6 separate regions of the Homo sapiens genome follow, and regions 1, 2, 4, 5 and 6 are each linked to region 3. Evidence: promoter capture Hi-C in 16 types of primary human blood cells and fetal thymus (Javierre and others, 2016). All regions are on one chromosome and are shown on one strand. The core of a region is centred on a gene start or on the middle of the fragment in contact, and the rest is flanking DNA. Distances in the headings are between cores, read along the strand shown.

What was found. The method cuts DNA at HindIII sites, captures the fragments that hold promoters and counts their contacts. A CHiCAGO score of 5 or more calls a contact.
Region 1: a fragment that was not itself captured here is called in contact with the fragment with the promoter of SPTA1 in region 3 in 1 of 17 cell types (megakaryocytes); the score reaches 5.8 in megakaryocytes.
Region 2: a contact is called between a fragment that was not itself captured here and the fragment with the promoter of SPTA1 in region 3, in 2 of 17 cell types (erythroblasts and megakaryocytes). The highest score is 8.2, in erythroblasts.
Region 4: a contact is called between a fragment that was not itself captured here and the fragment with the promoter of SPTA1 in region 3, in 2 of 17 cell types (megakaryocytes and erythroblasts). The highest score is 6.9, in megakaryocytes.
Region 5: a fragment that was not itself captured here is called in contact with the fragment with the promoter of SPTA1 in region 3 in 2 of 17 cell types (megakaryocytes and erythroblasts); the score reaches 13.8 in megakaryocytes.
Region 6: a contact is called between a fragment that was not itself captured here and the fragment with the promoter of SPTA1 in region 3, in 2 of 17 cell types (erythroblasts and megakaryocytes). The highest score is 12.7, in erythroblasts.

What each region holds. Positions count from the first base shown.
Region 1 is chr1:159,085,686-159,088,646 of GRCh38, reverse strand. It overlaps a transcript of AIM2 not described here. Among named protein-coding and RNA genes, the nearest start is that of AIM2, 10 kb to the right of the region's middle. The HindIII fragment of the contact is 5,350 bases long and covers 1-2,961 here.
Region 2 is chr1:158,966,880-158,969,676 of GRCh38, reverse strand. All of the region lies in intron 7 of PYHIN1 (pyrin and HIN domain family member 1), which reads right to left. Among named protein-coding and RNA genes, the nearest start is that of PYDC5, 34 kb to the left of the region's middle. The HindIII fragment of the contact is 1,597 bases long and covers 728-2,324 here.
Region 3 is chr1:158,685,427-158,688,467 of GRCh38, reverse strand. SPTA1 (spectrin alpha, erythrocytic 1) reads left to right here and starts at 1,753. Exons shown (of 52, transcript NM_003126.4): 1 at 1,753-1,974. The coding sequence starts at 1,951. The HindIII fragment of the contact is 3,907 bases long and covers 1-3,041 here.
Region 4 is chr1:159,069,221-159,072,368 of GRCh38, reverse strand. All of the region lies in intron 2 of AIM2 (absent in melanoma 2), which reads left to right. Among named protein-coding and RNA genes, the nearest start is that of AIM2, 6.0 kb to the left of the region's middle. The HindIII fragment of the contact is 683 bases long and covers 1,392-2,074 here.
Region 5 is chr1:159,003,322-159,006,165 of GRCh38, reverse strand. It overlaps a transcript of IFI16 not described here. Among named protein-coding and RNA genes, the nearest start is that of PYDC5, 2.0 kb to the right of the region's middle. RefSeq lists enhancers at 1-253, 254-779. The HindIII fragment of the contact is 4,916 bases long and covers 1-2,844 here.
Region 6 is chr1:158,983,041-158,985,910 of GRCh38, reverse strand. It overlaps a transcript of PYHIN1 not described here. Among named protein-coding and RNA genes, the nearest start is that of PYDC5, 18 kb to the left of the region's middle. The HindIII fragment of the contact is 1,925 bases long and covers 501-2,425 here.

The sequences.
Region 1 (2,961 bases), core at 287-2,786, 400 kb before region 3:
ACCTCTTAAAGACCCCACCTGTCAATATTACCACATCAGGGATTAAATTTCAACACGAGTTTTGAAGGAGACAAATATTTAAATCATGTCAGACATCAATACATAGAAAGAAAAAGCTGCAGTTACTTAGACACTGCAGTTTCATTGAAGCTGGTTCTTGGTGGAGGAACATCATTTGCCTCCATGGAGGCATATGTTTTGATATTGAATTGGGGAAAACCAGACTGAAGCTGTAAGTCATGCCCTTGGCATTATGAAGCAGCAAACATCGGGCCCAGCTGACTCATGCAGCTCCTGAATCCTGGCATTCCTTCCTCTCATGGTTCTAAGGCATGTTCTTTTATTGAAAAAACTTCTTGGCCACATGTTCAGGAAGATGTAGGATCCAAGTGTCAGAGACATAACTTCTGTGTCTCACATCTCACAGTCACATACCTCAAAGCCATTTTCCAGAGGCAGTTCAGTCACCCCCAGACCTCAAGCAGGCCTGATAACATCAAAAGCATCCTGTGCCTCATCTATGCCTCTTCCTCTTTTTCTGTCCACCCGATGTTCCACCTAGAGACTCAACTTATCACCAGTTATATTAAATCTTTCCACTATTTTGTAATTTCCCTTCATCTACTTTGTTAAATGAGAAACAGGAAAGAAGCAAGAATAAACTGAAAAATTTTTAATTATGCAAAAAAACTTAGGGATCAAAGGATCACTCTGGCAATGCAGAAATCTACCAAACTCTGCCACTTATCACTATTACATTTAAAAAAAGTAGACTTGGCTGGGCACGGTGGCTCACAACTAATTCCAGCACTTTGGGGGGCCAAGATAGGCGGATCACTTGAGGTCAGGAGCTCAAGACTAGCCTGGCCAACGTGGTGAAACCCCGTCTCTACTAAAAATACAAAAATTAGCTGGGCGTGGTGGTGGGCACTTGTAATCCAAGGTACTCCAGAGGCTGAAGCATGAGAATCGCTTGAACCCAGGAGGCAGAGGTTGCAGTGAGCCGAGATCACGCCACTGCACTCCAGCCCGGGTGACAGAGCAAGACTCCATCTCAAAAAAAAAAAAAAAAAGACTTTATCCAGAATAAAGAAAAAGCCTGGCATTGCTTTTTATAACACACAGATGGCATCATAGGTTATTAAGAATTTATTAATAATTGATTAATATAAATGGTGGGCTATAAATACCAGAATCGTCCTCCTGATCCCCCCATCCTTGTCTTCAGGTATACTTCCACAGTTCAGCACAAGTATGGTTCCTTCCACTGACACTTAAAGGTTAACTTAGTCTCAGCCATGGTGATCATTTTTTTTTTTTATCACAACCTCACCTGACTGCCATCATCCTTACCATCACCCTGACTCAGCCCTATCACTAGTATTGTCAATATAAAGGACATTGAGTAGTGTAGGAGTCAAGGAAAAGCGAAGAAGTAGAGACTGTTGGGTTGGGAGCCTAGGTCAGTGGGAGAGTTGTGGTTCCATTAACAGTAAAAGGGAAGTAAGAATGAGAAAGTACTTAGAGTCCTAAGACAATCAATGATTTAGGATATGTAGAGGTTGAATTTTTCATTATGTATTTAAATAAAAATGTGTAGCACAAAGTTTCAAATGTACACTTGGAGTTTTAAGGTGGTGAGTCTTGGTGATTTGAGTTTGCAATTATTTTATACAGATTCAGTTTCTGCCCCTAAGGAGTTTACACTTCACTGAAAAAGGCAGACAAGACATTAGCCCTCATAAAACAATATATTGATAGTCATAATAATAATGGATAGAGTTTACTGAGTTCTTTCTTTCAGTTACTTTGCTTAGTGTTTTAAACATGTAAACTCTTAATTTTCACAACACCTTCTAGGATTAGGGACTGACAGCCTTCAATAGACTAAGAGACTTACTCAAGGCCACACAGGTTGGTGGAGCAGGGATTTTAACTTGCACGGGTGTAGTGCCCAAGCCTGTGAGTTTACTTCTTTCCACTTTATTGCTGTGATGGAAAGTCCTGGAGATGATGGGAAAATAAACAACAGGAGCACTTAGCTCAGACTTGGGCTTGCAGGATTTGAAAACAATTTTGGAGAAAGTGAGATATAAAGAAGGACCTGGGGGTGAGTAAGAATTAGCCAGATGGGGGAGGAGAAGTAGAGGGCGAGGTATGTGCAGATTCACCTGGAGCCTAGTGTATGTGGGCAGAGGGAGGCCAGGAAGGGCCTGGCCCCAGAGCGCTCTGATGAGCTGGCCAACAGGAAAACAGAGGCAGCCTCATGTCACAAACAAAGCATCCATGTTTATGAGGTGGAAAGAGGAGAGACACTGACAACGAGGACAAAGATAGGTGGTTCAGAAGCTGGAAGAGCTTTAGGATCTGTTCTCTGGCTTTTATTAATATTTTTGCCTCACCCTTGTTGCCTTTTTACCTGCTCCCTGTTTCAGTACATTGATATCAAATATAAGTAGAGCAAACCAAATTAAACATCATAGAATGATGGGTAAAATCTGGTGGAAGCAAATAATTATCTGTTGGATGTTTCCTAGATCTGAAACAGGATTTGCTAGATCTGAGCCCTATCCTTCTTTCCCCTCACACTCCACCACCAGCTTTATTGAGGTATAATCAACAAATAAAAATTGTATATTTACAGTATACAACGTGATGTTTTGATATTTGTGTACATTATGAAATGATAAAGTTAATAAACATGTCTGCCACCTCACATAGTGTGTGTGTGTTAGAACATTTAAGATCTACTCTCTTAGCGATACTCAAGTACACACTACGTCACTGAGTGCCATCTTCCTTGAAATACTCTTTGCCTTGCCTTCCAGCACTCCACCAGGTCTGGCTTCTTTTCTCTACTGCTCTGACCTTTCTTTGTAAGTCTTCCTTGTTGACTCTTCCTCTTTAGCCCAACCACTTGCTGTCTGAGCTCTACGTGGCTTGGAGGCCTGCCCCCTTCTC
Region 2 (2,797 bases), core at 277-2,776, 280 kb before region 3:
ACCAGGAATGGGCTCCATCTAACCACCTGAAGTAAGATGGCAAATAGGTTAGATTGATAGCACTATCCACAAATAGTAATTTTAGAAAGTGTACAGAGAAATATGAATTATTGGAATTCACCAGTCAAAAAGAACAAAAGCAGCAACAAAACAAAATGTAAAAATGAGAACTCCTTACATAGGAGTCCTGTCTTCAACTGGTACACATGTATTAGTGATGCAGAAAGAAGGTTGGTCAGAGTGCAATATGGTAATGGGTAAGATACTAGATTGGAAGATAGTGACTCAGTTTTCCTTTTACCTTAGCTTCAAGTTGCCTGCCCATTTACTGAAGATATAGGCATCTGATTCATAGGCCTTAACATGGCAGTGAAAGAGAAAGAACGAAATAGTGAGTCACAGTTACCTAATTTCTCATGCGAAGCCTTGCAGAACCTGAATTATGGAAACAAACTCAAACCATAACGATGTCTGACTTTAAATATATAGAAAAATATTTCAGAAATTTTAACATCTACATTCTGACTCTGGAAGCAATATATGACCATGAAATACTTAAGTTTTAGAGTTCATTAAGGCTGGATTTGAATGTTGACTGTAAGACCAAAAATTATTTTTTTAACTTTTATTTTAGGTTCAGAGGTACATGTGCAGGTTTGTTACATAGGTAAACTGCATGTCACAGGGGTTTGGTGGACAGATTATTTCATCACCCAGGTATTAAGCTTGATACCCACTAAGAATTGTTTTTTCATCCTCTCCCTCTTCCCATCCTCCATCTTCAAGTAGGCGCCAGTGTCTGTTGTTCTCCTCTTTGGGTCCGTGTGTTCTCTCATTGTTTAGCTCTGTTTATAAGAATGGCATCCAGCTCCATTCATGTTGGTGCAAAGGACATGATCTTATTGTTTTTTGTGGCTGTGTAGTATTCCATGGTGTGCATGTGCCACACTTTCTTTATCCAGTCTAACGTCAATGGACATTTAGGGTGATTCCATGTCTTTGCTATTGTGAATAGTGGTGCAATGAACATATGCATGCATGTGTCTTTGTGGTAGAATAATTTATATTCCTTTGGGCATATGCCCAGTACTAGGATTGCTGGGTCAAATGGGAGTTCTGTTCTAAGTTCTTTGAGGAATTGTCACACTGCTTTCCACAATGGCTGAACTAATTAACACTCCCACTGGCAGTATATAAGTGTTCCCTTTTCTCTGCAAGCTCACCAGTATCTGTTATTTTTTGACTTTTTAATAACAGTCATTCTGATTGGTGTGAGATGTTACCTCATTGTGGTTTTGATTTGCATTTCTCTAATAATTAGTGATGTTGAGCATTTTTTCATGTTTGTTGGCCATGTGTATGTTTTCTATTGAGAAGGGTCTGTTCACATCCTTTGCCCACTTTTTAATGGGGTGGCTCATTTTTTTCTTGTAAATTGGTTTACATTCTTTATAGATTCTGGATAACAGATCTTTGTTGGATGCAAAGTTTGCAATTTTTTTTTTCTCATTCTGTAGATAGTTTGATTACTTTGTTGGTAATTTCTTTTGCTGTGCAGAAGTTCATTAGTTTAATGAAGTCCTATTTGTCATTTTTTCTTTATGTTGTAATTGTTTATGGCATCTTCAAAACGAAGTCTTTTCCAGGCCCTATATCCAGAATGGTATTTTCTAGGTCATCTTCCAGGGTTTTTATAGTTTTAGATTTTACACTGAAGCCTTCAATTCATCTTGAATTGACTTTTGTATATGGTGTAAGGAAGGGGTCCAGTTTTAATCTTCTGCATATGGCTAGCCAGTTATCTCAGCACCATTTATTGAAAAAGGAGTCCTTATCCCATTGCTTGTCATTGTCAACTTTGTCAAAGATCCAGTGATTGTAGGTGGGCGGCCTTATTTCTGGGCTGTCTATTCTGTTTCATTGGTCTATGTGTCTGTTTTTGTACCAGTACTATGCTCTTTTGGTTACTGTAACCTTGCAGTATAGTTTGAAGTTGGGTCAAGTGATACCTCCAGCTTTGTTCTTTTTGCTTAGGATTGCTTTGACTATTCAAGTTCATTTTTGGTTTTATATAAATTTTAAAATCGTGTTTTCTAATTCTGTGAAGAATGTCATTGGTAGTTTGATAGGAATAGCATTGAATCTGTACATTGCTTTGGGAAATCTGGCCATTTTTAATAATATTGATTTTTCCTATCCATGAGCATGGAACTTTTCCTATTTGTTTGTGTTCCTTCATTTCTTTGAGCAGTGTTTTGTAATTCTTATTGTTAATAACTACCTCCTTGGTTAGCCTCTCTGTGATTGCCTAACCTCTCCAAGCTTCAGTTTCCTTATGTAAAAAATGAAATGATTGCCTCATTATTTTGATTTGAAGATTATGAGAAAAATGGATCCAAAGTGATGTACACAGTGCCTGTCACATAAGACACAATATACAAAACAGACTACATTCTAAGAAAACCCTCTCATCCCACAAATAGCCTGCTCTAGAAAAAAATGTAGTATGGTGATTTCCAACCTTGATGAATACAATAAATCCTTTTGTCAATTTTTGTGGCAATTGTGAACGGAATTGCATTCCTGTTTTGACTCTCAGCTTGGATGTTGTTGGTTTATAGGAATGTGTACTGATTTTTGTATATTGATTTTGTATCCTGAAACTTTGCTGAAGTTGTTTATGAGATCAAAGAGCTTTTCTGCAGAGACTATGGGTTTTTCTAAATACAGGATTTTGTCATCTGCAAAAAGTGATAGTTTGACTTTCTCTTTTCCTACTTGGATGCCTTTTATTTCT
Region 3 (3,041 bases), core at 504-3,003:
CAGGTTGGTTCCAAAGGGCTAATATCCAGAATCTACAAGGAACTTAAACAAATTTACAGGAAAAAAACAAATGACCCCATCAAAAAGTGAGCAAAGGATATGAATAGACACTTCTCAAAAGAAGATATTTATGCAGTCAGCAAACATATGAAAAAAAGCTCATCATAACTGGTCATTAGAGAAATGCAAATCAAAACCACAATGAGATACCATCTCATGCCAGTTAGAATGGCGATCATTAAAAAGTCAGGAAACAGCAGATGCTGGAGACAATGTGGAGAAATAGGAATGCTTTTACACAGTTGGTGGGAGTGTAAGTTAGTTCAACCATTGTGGAAGACAGTGTGGCAATTCCTCAAGGATCTAGAACCATAAATACCATTTGACCCAGCAATCCCATTACTGGCTATATACCCAAAGGATTATAAATCATTCTACTATAAAAACACATGCACACATATGTATATTGTGGCACTATTCACAATGGGCCATACTATTTCTTTGGTCACAAGGTTATCACATGTTTGGCATTCTTGCTAAGATGATTCTGGAACAGGGAAACAGAACAAATAATGTTGATGGACTAAGAGAAGATTGACTAAAAAAATAAGGAGCAGAGTGCCATGATAATCATATTGATATGGATTTGACTATTTAAATACTTTCAAACCAAATCACCATAGAATGAAACTTTGTTTTTTAGGGACTGTTTTCTCACATAAAGACGGGTATGATAATACCTGCCTCACAGAATTTTTAAAGATTAGAAATTAATGTAAATTGATCATGTTAATATATAAATATTTCATAGATGTTGATTCTTTTCTCTTAAAGATAAAATAATTTCCTCTCCTTATCCCAACTTCAGACAAATATTCCTCAGTGCATGTGTTATAGTGCAGTCTCTAAAATTATGTTCCTGCCTTTACTACTAAATTTGACTTGAATATAATGAAACTATATGGAAAAGTAAAGTAATCCAGACTTTCAAGAAGAGAATGTAAAGGACTCTCAGTTTTTCTATGTGAGATCCAAGAACAGGGGAAACCACAAATGTAGAATCAAAATCTTCTCTTGTAGATCATGGAAGTTAGATTATTCAAGCTGCATTTACACTGGAATGAAGTTTGGCATGGATAGCCCCACTGGCTTGTAGAAAGGTCTAAGAGCATCCCACTATTTTCTTTTTGCTTGTTTGTTTCATTTTTGTAAGTTAGTCTAAAATAACTATGCCTATGGAAAAAGTCTACCTCTTTTTGTTCTCCATTAAAATTAATACATACAGTAGGATGATTTATACCATATATATCAGAAGTCAGCCATATTTTCAACTTTTTTGTGACATCATTGGTTTGTCAAATAAGGTATCCTAATTTTTGTTTTACAAAATATTAATGAACACATCATATAACTTTTTTTGTTCCTTCCATTTAAATGATTAAGAGTACAACTAAATCAGATTTTTAAAGACCAAATTGTTGAGGTTAGGAATAAAATCTTATTTTGTGAAAGACTCTCTAGAAAAAGCCAGGATAATTCGTTGACTTAAAGACTGTGAAAAATCTGCAGTTGAGTTGGATGAAGTTGTTGAGCTGTATTTCCTATAAATATATGGGGTTTTTTTTCTAATTTTTCATCCAAAAACCTTACTTTCATTTTTTAAGTCTTATTGAGTAACTTTGAAAGCCAGAGCCTCCCAAAACTGCTGAGTCACCCAGTATCTGTAAAACTTAGCAGTTGCCTCAGCTGAGTATGTCTTCTAAAGATAATGTCGATTGTGTATGGCTGATGGGATTCTAGGACCAAGCAAGAGGTTTTTTTTTTTCCCCCACATACTTAACGTTTCTATATTTCTATTTGAATTCGACTGGACAGTTCCATTTGAATTATTTCTCTCTCTCTCTCTCTCTGACACATTTTATCTTGCCAGGTTCTAAACCTTTAGGAAAAATGGAGCAATTTCCAAAGGAAACCGTAAGTACATATTTCTCTTCCATGCAATTTGTCATTAATATTATTAGGAAAGATGTTTCCTTTAAACTTTCTATACTATCTTTCCCAGGAACATTAATAATTATTTGGCTTTTAACAAATAGATAATTTTACTTTTAACTATTTTTTGTGAACAATAACCTTGAGCTTATGTCTGTGCAGCACCAAGACCCAGTAATGACTTAAGTCGGTTCCCAGAGAGAATAAGTAGGGAGATTGAAGCTAAATAACACCTAGTAACAACGTGAGTCTCCATGTAATGATCTAATTCTATAGCCATGCCAGTAATGGCAATTCACAGAGTAGCAATTATACTTAGGAGGAATAATGGGAGATTAAAATTTAAACTCTATATTAAACATTTTGGCTGAGGTAAGCTAGGGAAAATGGTATCCATATCCAGAAGAATGAAGGTGAACCCTATGGTGATTTTGCTGGATATTGTCACAAACAGGTTGGCTCCCACTCTGGGAAAAGGATACTTATATATTGTTTTAGAGTAAAAGTTTTTATATTTCAAAAATAAATTGCAGACATGCTAATAATTTGAAATTTGTGACAATTGGGCAGAAGATAGCTGAACTTTTGATTTATAGTGTTTGTGAGTAAAGCAAGTAAAGAGTAAATATATGAGATTTATTTTTAAGTATGAAGGAAACAAAATTTTCAAACTGTTGCATATATCATTAACTAAATTAATTGCAAGCCATTCTTAATTATTTATTAAATTAAGTTAAAAATAATAAGCACTTCTCAACACCTTTTTAGCCCTTGAAAGCAATAACATTATATTTCTTTTTATCTATCTGAAATTATGTGATTTTGCTGATTTAAACTTGCTCCATGATCAGTCCAATATAATTATATCTATAGAACTTAAATGCTAGCACAAATTTATGTAAAAAGTGAGGAGAGTCTTCTGGATAATCAAGAATTTTTAACCTAAACAGAAGCTATGTCTGGTTAAAAATTACGTAAATATACTACAGCTCTTCTGACAATAGTCCCTAGAAACTTCAGGATATCTGAATATAGGTCCAACATGAGTA
Region 4 (3,148 bases), core at 484-2,983, 380 kb before region 3:
AACAAGGGTGACATGGCTTCTCACACATGAGTTATAGGAAGGCTAAATGAAGCCACATAAGTGATACTATGTACATTCATAATTCTATACAGATATAAACTGTTAGGTAGTTTCTAAGGCACTAAAGAGAAAGGAGTGGTGGTTTTCCCAGGCTTTAAGTTAGAAGGTGTAGTTCTTAGAGATGGCCCTTAGATGGCAGTAACTACACATGTTACTTCCAAGTAACCAACCAAAACATTGCCCTGTGTTTTTCTTATCTGGGATGAGCCAGGAATCTAGGCATATTGGCAAACATAGGCTGAGATATTTAGAAATATCTTTTATTTTGGTAATAAATCAAGAATTAATTCTTCTCTTTGACCAGGATAGAACAAAATTTCCCCTTCTACAATCTTCTCCCCATTTTGCTATTCTAATGATTCTGGGATTTTGTTATTCTGCTTAGCTAAAAAAGATCCAGTTTGGGACTAGCTTGGAAACTCAGGAGTAGATTATCCAAGGACTCTCCCAAATGAGAGTCTCCAAATGTAACAGTTGTAGGATTCAAAGTATGCTTTTGGGCCAGGCGCAGTGGCTCACGCCTTTAATCCCAGCACTTTGGGAGGCCAAGGCGGGTGGATCACTTGAGTTCAGGAGTTCGAGATCAGCCTGGCCAACATAGTGAAACTTTGTCTCTACTAAAAATACAAAAATTAGCCAGGCATGGTGGCGGGCATCTGTAATGCCAGCTACTTGGGAGGCTGAGGCACGAGAATCACTTGAACCTGGGAGGGAGAGGTTGCAGTGAGCTGAGATCACACCTCTGCACTCCTGCCTGGGCAACAACAGTGAGACCCTGTCTCAAACAACAACAACAACAAAACACAAAGTATGCTTCTTGCATGCTATACAAGAAGGCAGTTAAGTTCCTTCATAGCTCTAAAATTCTATCCACGGACATACTTAGGCCGCTTTTGAATGTAGGAAATTTTTGTGTGTCCATGCTATTTCTATTATTTTAGGAAAACAGTTTTTGTTTTATTTTTTGAACAGTTAATCTGTCATTCTTGGTTAAGTGATCCTTCTCCATTGCCATTGCATGTCTGCATGTAGAGTGCTATATGCTATTCTACTCATGACCTCACCTCATGGAAGGTAGAAGATACCTGGAGAATCTTTAATGAAGACAGAGGCAATAATTAGTAGACAGGAGAAGCTTTTGTATGAAGCAAGATGAGAAAATATAAGGACACATAAGCGTAGAAAAAGGAAGCTAAGAGAAAATGTGATCAAAGTCCACAAAAGTCCTGCAAGATTAAAATAAAATGCTGAAAATGATAAATGAAATAATCAGTAACAATGTGCACCTGATTATTAAGGCAAATGAGAGATTTATAATTGGCAGACAAGCTTGTCCACAAATATTGCATTGGTACCACAGTGTGTGAAATGAAATATGGCTGATGTGATGTGGTAGAATGGTAGGTTGATTCCTTCCGCCTCCCTTGATGCTGTTTTCTCTCCGATGCTGTGAACATAGAAGAGAGACTTTATCTGCATACCTTTCTGAAACCAATTTCATGGAACTAACTTACCATTGGAAGGTTAGTTTAACTTCTTCCTAGTGCAGAGATCCTGCTACAATATCCCTGTCAGACAGTCAACCACTTTCTGATCTTTGAAAGGTAATGACAGAGTACCTACTACCTCATAAGACAGTTCATTCTACTCTTAGCTCTAATAATTAAATCGTTTCTCTTTTTAGTAAAATCAGTGATTGCCTTGCTATTTCAGTCCAGAATTGTTCAAATTCTATCAGAAATAACATCTAATAATTTCCCAGGCCCTCTTCTGCCTGAGAGTGCCTTAAGTCATCAAACATGGCCATCTTGTTACATGGTCTTTTTAAAAATCAGGAGTAGGAGTTGGCTTTTCACGATAACATATAACCTGACCATAGACGTGGAGGAGCCCAGCCAGAGTATACGACTGCATTTTGTAGGCATTAGTGAGGAGCCAACATGCCACCCATCCATCCATTTCTTCATCCATTCAGTAAATATCCATTGAATTGCTAATAGGTACAAGGAAAGCTTTTAGGTTCTTATGATAAAACAAGGTTTTAAAAACAAATCCAAATTTTGTACAGTTTATACTCTAAAGGGAAAGTAGATATTTTTCTTACAGGCAAATTAACTGAGACAGGTAACTAACTGAGACAAATGTTCTGATGGAAAGGAAGATGGTTCTTCAGCAGCATGTGTCAAAGGAGCATTAACATAAGCCAGGAGTTAGAGTTGGTGTTGGTCAAAGCGGGTTCCATGGGGAAGTGACTTGCACTAAGCTGTGAAAAATGCATAGGAGTTAAAGGTACCTTCAGTCAGAGGGAACACTGTGTGAAAATCCCTCTGACAGCAGGTGTTGACTTGCTTGAGGACTGAAAGAAGGCCAGTATGGCTGCAGTACAGAGAATCTTCAGAGGGCAGGATGGGGTCCCCTCGACAGAAGGAAAATGCAAGGCCTTGTAGAACATAATTAGAAATCTGTGGCCAGGCGCGGTGGCTCACGCCTGTAATCCCAACACTTTGGGAGGCTGAGGTGGGCGCATCACGAGGTGAGGAGCTCAAGACCAGCCTTAACAACATGGTGAAACCCCATCTTTACTAAAAAAATACAAAAATTAGTCAGGCGTGGTGGCATGAGCCTGTAATCCCAGCTACTCAGGAGGCTGAGGCAGGAGAATCACTTGAACCCAGGAGGCAGAGGTTGCAGTGAGCCAAGATTGCGCCACTGCACTCCAGCTTGGGTGACGGAGTGAGACTCCGTCTCAAAAAAAAAAAAAAGAAAGAAATCAGCCCTTGTTTCATAGCAGCAGTTTATTCATTTTCACTACTACATAAGATTCCATTTAATTGATAATTACATATACACATAAACTGATATACATATATATAGAGAGAGAGAATTGGTGTATTTTTATTGTTATTTTAGTCATTGGAGGCCATTATGAATAATGCTGCTATGAATATTTATGTACATTATAAGCCTTATATACTTATCTTTGTATGTTTGTATTTGTATGTGTGTTTCTCTTGACTGTACACCTGTGAATGGTATTACTGGATGTTAAGGTAAGTAGATATTGAATTTTAATAAATAGCGTCCCAAA
Region 5 (2,844 bases), core at 1-2,500, 320 kb before region 3:
GTGTGGGGTATTTTCTTAACTCGCTTGGGTACAACAATATAAGCACAAGGCAAGCTCAGACCAAAGAAGAGGCAGACCACTCCTGGCTGGTTGGTAGTCAAAGATCTAGATAGCAGAAACTTACACAGGAGGCAGTCTTAAGCGGGAACAAGAGAAGTCAGATCTCCACCTCGCAGTGCACGCCTGAGTAGTCTTTCAGACAGTGAGAAGAAACAAGGAAGGAAAAGCTGATGGGGGCGCTGAGGGGTGGGGATAGCTATACCGATAGTGCCTTAGGCCATCTGGTTGCTCTCTTAATCTATTTACTTCCTGCTTAAATGGATTGTTTGAGCTTCCTTCAATCTGTTCCACATTGCTAAGGAGTGGGAGGATGTTCCTGGAAGCAGCAGTCATCTTGGTGCCAGTATGCATTTTCCAGTGGGACTGCAGCCTCCTACAATTCAATTTAAGCTCAGTTCCCAGAACACGTTTTCACAACAATGCCATTCCTTCCCCTCCAACCTCAAGGCTTCTCTCAGCCAGTCCTTCCTTGAAATTTTGTAGTTTCTGTATTGCAGTTTTGTATTCTACTTTTCCTGTTGCTCAAAGCTAATGCCATAAACTCCAGACAACTCTGTTGGCAGAAAGAGCTTCTGTAGTTCTAGGGATGACCTCTTTACTTTGGAGTGGAATAAAAGAGACTCAGTGTTGAGGCAGGAGAGGAGAGTGAATGCATATGGAAACCTGGGGAGTGATGTGAACCAGTCATGATATACTGTACAAGGCCAGAGTTGGCATCATTCATCTGTTTATTGCATGTCTCATGGAGAAAATATGAGTGAAAGAAGTTTCTGGTTCATGAAAACTCCTGTTCTCTGACCCTCCCTGTAATGGACATGCATACTTTCCCACTGTCTTAGTCCATTTAGTGCTGCTGTAATGGAATACTATAGACTGGGTAATTTATACAGAACAGAAATGTATTTCTCACAGTACTTGAGGTGGAAGTCCAAGGTCAAGCATCAGTATCTGGTGAGGCCTTCTTGCTGTGTCCTCACATGACAAACGGGGCGAATTCACCCCCTACATGCCCGTTAGAGTGGCATTAATCAGTCTATTTACGTGAGTGAAATTCTCATGATCTAAATACCTCCCATTTGGCCCAAGCTCCCAACACTGTTGCATTGGGTACTAAGTTTCAACATTATTTTTGAAGGGGGTAAAAACATTGATAGTTTCTACTTCTCCGGCTTTATCTCTGCTATCTTCATTCTTTATTTGCTTATTTTATCTAAAACTGTTCTCCAGAAAGCATTCTTTGAGGATCTTTACTAGATTGATAATTTCTTTACTCTGTTTAATTTCAGGACTTCACTTTGGCTGTCAAAATTTCCCTTGATATAATTTATCTCTAAAATTGAAGATGAGATTCTCTACTGTTGTCAGTAATGAACTCTCCACCCTAAACATCTGGTTTTGGGAATTTTTTTTCTTTTGAGACGGAGTCTTGCTCTGTTGTGATGGCACGATCTCGGCTCATTGCAACCTCTGCCTCCCAGGTTCAAGTGATTCTCCTGCTTCAGCCTCCTAAGTAGCCAGAATTACACGCATGCACCATCAAGCCTGGCTAATTTCTGTATTTTCAGTAAAGACAAGGTTTCACCATGCTGGCCAGGCTGGTCTCAAACTCCTGATCTCAAGTGACCCACCCACCTCGGCCTCCCAAAGTGCTGGGATTAGAGGCGTGAGTCACGATGCCCGGCTGGTTTTGGGAATTCTTACCCCAAATTACTAACATCTATAATTTACTCAGATTTACTTAGCAATAAGGGCAAAATTAACTGAAATTTAGATTTCTTAACCTTTTTTTTTTCTTTTGGAGATAAGGTCTTGCCATGTTGCCCAGGCTGATCTCAAACTCCAGAGCTCAAACAATCTACCTACCTCAGCCTCCCAAAGTGCTGGGATTACAGGCATAAGCCACCACATCCATCCTTAATATTTTGGCTGGAATTTGGGTATTAATATATTAAGAAGAGAGAAATAAAATTTACAAGTAATGGAGAAGTGGTGTTTGAATTTTATTTCCTTTTATGTTTTAGATTAAGGGTTGACAATCTTTGGTTCAAGGAAAGAAACTGCTGTTCACACAAATAAGTGCTTCTATGTGTTTGAATGTTTAAGGTATCAAGTCATGAGTGTCAGAAATGCAAAATAATACAGAATTGGCTGGGCGCGGTGGCTCACGCCTGTAATCCCAGCACTTTGGGAGGCTGAGGCGGGCGGATCACAAGGTCAGGAGATCGAGACCATCCTGGCTAACACAGTGAAACCCCGTCTCTACTAAAAATACAAAAAATTAGCTGGGCATGGTGGCGGGCGCCTATAGTCCCAGCTACTCGGGAGGCTGAGGCAGGAGAATGGTGTGAACCCAGGAGGCGGAGCTTGCAGCGAGCCGAGCTCATGCCACTGCACTCCAGCCTGGGCGACAAAGCGAGACCCCGTCTCAAAACATAATAATAATAATAATAATAATACAGAATTATGGACATACAAGATAGGAGAAGTTTATGGTGCAAATACCTATCGCCTTGGTCTTTTTGTTCCCTAACTCAGTGACAGGTGGCTAACTGCTCCTTAGGCTGATAGAGCCAAAACGTGATTCCAGCCTAAGAATCACAAAAGAGCAAAACAGAGGAGGGATTGCTTAGGTAACAGAGATCGAGCTCCTTTAGGAATTTGGAATATGGCAAGTTATTTCTTCTTAGCTTTACGGCAGTAATTTAAGTGTTATGTGATTTTGTAATTGCAGAATATTATGACATAGCCAGAATAAAAATACATCTATTGTCTAAATAGATAACT
Region 6 (2,870 bases), core at 214-2,713, 300 kb before region 3:
AGCTTGAAGATCAGTTCTTCAAATCAACTCAGTCAGATAAAAATAAAGGAAAAAATAATAAAATATGAACGAAACTTCAAGAAATATGAGTTTATGTAAAGAGACCAAACCTACAACTGATTTGCATCACAGAAAGAGAGGGAGAGAGACCAAGCAACTTGGAGAACATATTTGAAGATATTGTCCCTGAAAATTTACCTGACCTTGCTAGAGAGGTTGACATGTAAATTCAGGAAATTCAGAGTACCCCAGCAAGATATTACACAAGATGACAATCCCTAAGACACATAGTTATCCAATTCTCCAAGATCAAGGTAAATAAAACATATGAAAGGCAGCAAAAGAGAAGAGGCAGATCATGTACAAAGGGAACCCTTATCACACTAACAGTGGACCTTTCAGCAGAAATTTTTCAAGCCAGAAAAGATTAAAGGCCTACATTCAGCATTCTTAAACAAAAGAAATTCTAACCATGATTTCATATCCAGCCGAACCAAGCTTTGTAAGTGAAAAAGAAACATAATCCTTTTCAGACAAACAAACACTAAGCGAATTTGTTACCATTAGGCCTGCCTTATAAGAGGTCCTTCAGGGAGTGCTGAACATGGAAACAAAAGGCTGCTACCTGCCACAAAACAACACACTTAAGTAAATATTCCACTGACACAATATGCAACTATACAATCAAGTCTACATAACAACCAGCTAATAACACTATGACAGGATCAAATCCTTACATATCAATATTAACCTTGAACATAAGCAGGCTAACCACTCCACTTAAAAGGCACAGAATGGTAAGTTGGATAAAGAAGCAAGACTCAATTACATGCTGTCTTCAAGAGACCCACCTTACATGTAAAGACACAGGCTTAAATTAAATGGATGGAGGAATATCTATAAAGCAAATGGAAAACAAACAAAATAGAGCAGGGGTTGCTCTTTTATTTCAGGAAAAAAAAAACAGACCTTAAACCAAAAGCTATCAAAGAGGATGAAGAAGGGCATCACATAATGATAAAAAGTTCAATTCTACAAACAAGACTTAACTATCCTAAAGATGTGTGCATTCAGCACTGGCACAACCAGATTCATAAAACAAGTTCTTAGAGACCTATGAAGAGAACTAGCTAACCTCACAATAATAGTGGGAGAATACAACACCCTACTAACATTGTTAGATAAATCATTGAGGGAGAAAACTAACAAAGATATTCAGGAACAAAATTTCACACTTGACTAAATTGACCTAACAGACATATAAGGAACATTCCACTCAACAACAGAATATACATTCTTCTCATCTGCACATGGCACATACTCTGTGCCACATGCTTGGCCACATGCTTGGCCATAAAGCAATGCTCAGGAAATTCAAAAAACAGAAATTATATCAACCACACTCTCAGATCACAGTGCAACAAAAATACAAATCAATACCAAGAAGATCTCTGAAAATCATAGAAGTATTTGGAAATTAAACAACTTACTCCTGAATGACTTTTGGGTAATAAATTAAATTAATGCAGAAATCAAGAAATCTTTGAAACTAATGAAAACAAAAATACAATATATCAGAGTCTCTGGGACACAGCTAAAGCAGTGTTAAGAGAAAAGTTTATAGCACTAAAGGCCTACATCAAAAAGTCAGAAATATCTTAAATTTATACCTAACATCACATTTACAGGAACTAGAAAAAACAAAAGGAAACCAACCCCCAAACTAGCAGAAGAAAAATAATAATCAAAATCTAAGTTGAACCAAATAAAATTGAGATGTGAAAATTCACAAAAATAATTAAGAAAACTAAAAATTGGTTTTTTGAAAGAATAAGATATATAGACCACTAGCCAGATTAATATACAAAAAAAAAAAAAAAAACAGGAGAAGATCCAAATAAATACAATTAGAAATGACAAAGGGGACATTACCATGGAACCCACAGAAATACAAAAACTCTCAAAGACCATTATGAACAATTTCTATGCTGAAAAACTAGAAAATCTAGAAGAAACAGATAAATTCCTGAAAACATACAACCTGCCAAGATTGAACCAGGAAGACATTGAATACCTAAACAGATCAATAACAAGTTCTGAAATTGAATCCATAATAAAATACCTACAAACCAACAAAAGCCATGGATCAGACAGATTCACATCTGAATTCTACCTGATAGATAAGGAGGAGCTGATACCAATCCTACCAAAATTATTCCAAAATATTGAGGAGCGGAGACTCTGCCCTGAATCATTCTATGAGGTCAGCATTATTCTGATACCAAAACCTGACAGAAACACAAAGGAAAAACAAATTCAGGACAATATGCCTGATAAATATTGATGCAAAAGTCCTCAAAAAAAAATACTAGCAAACTAAATCCAGCAGCACAGCAAAAGCTAAGCCACCATGATCAAGTAAGCTTTACCCCTGGAATGCAAAGTTGGTTCAACATACGCAAATTGGTAAATGTGATTTATCACATAAACAGAACTAAAAACAAAAATCACGTGATTATCTAAATAGATGCAGAAAAGGTTTCAATAAATTCAACATTCTTTCATGTTAAAAACCCTCAACAAACTAGGTATCAAAGGAACATACCTCAAAATGAGACATCTATGACAAAACCACAGCCAACATCATATCACAAATAGGCAAAAGCTGAAATCATACCTCTTGAGAACCAGAACAAGACAAAGTTGCCTACTCTCACTACTCCTGGTTCAACATAGCACTGGAAGTTCTAGCCAGAGCAGTCAGGCAAGAGAAAAAAAAATAAAAGACGTCCAAATAGAAAGAAAGGAAGTCAAACTACCTCCTTTTGCAGGTAATATGATTCTATACCCAGAAAACCCCATAGCCTTTG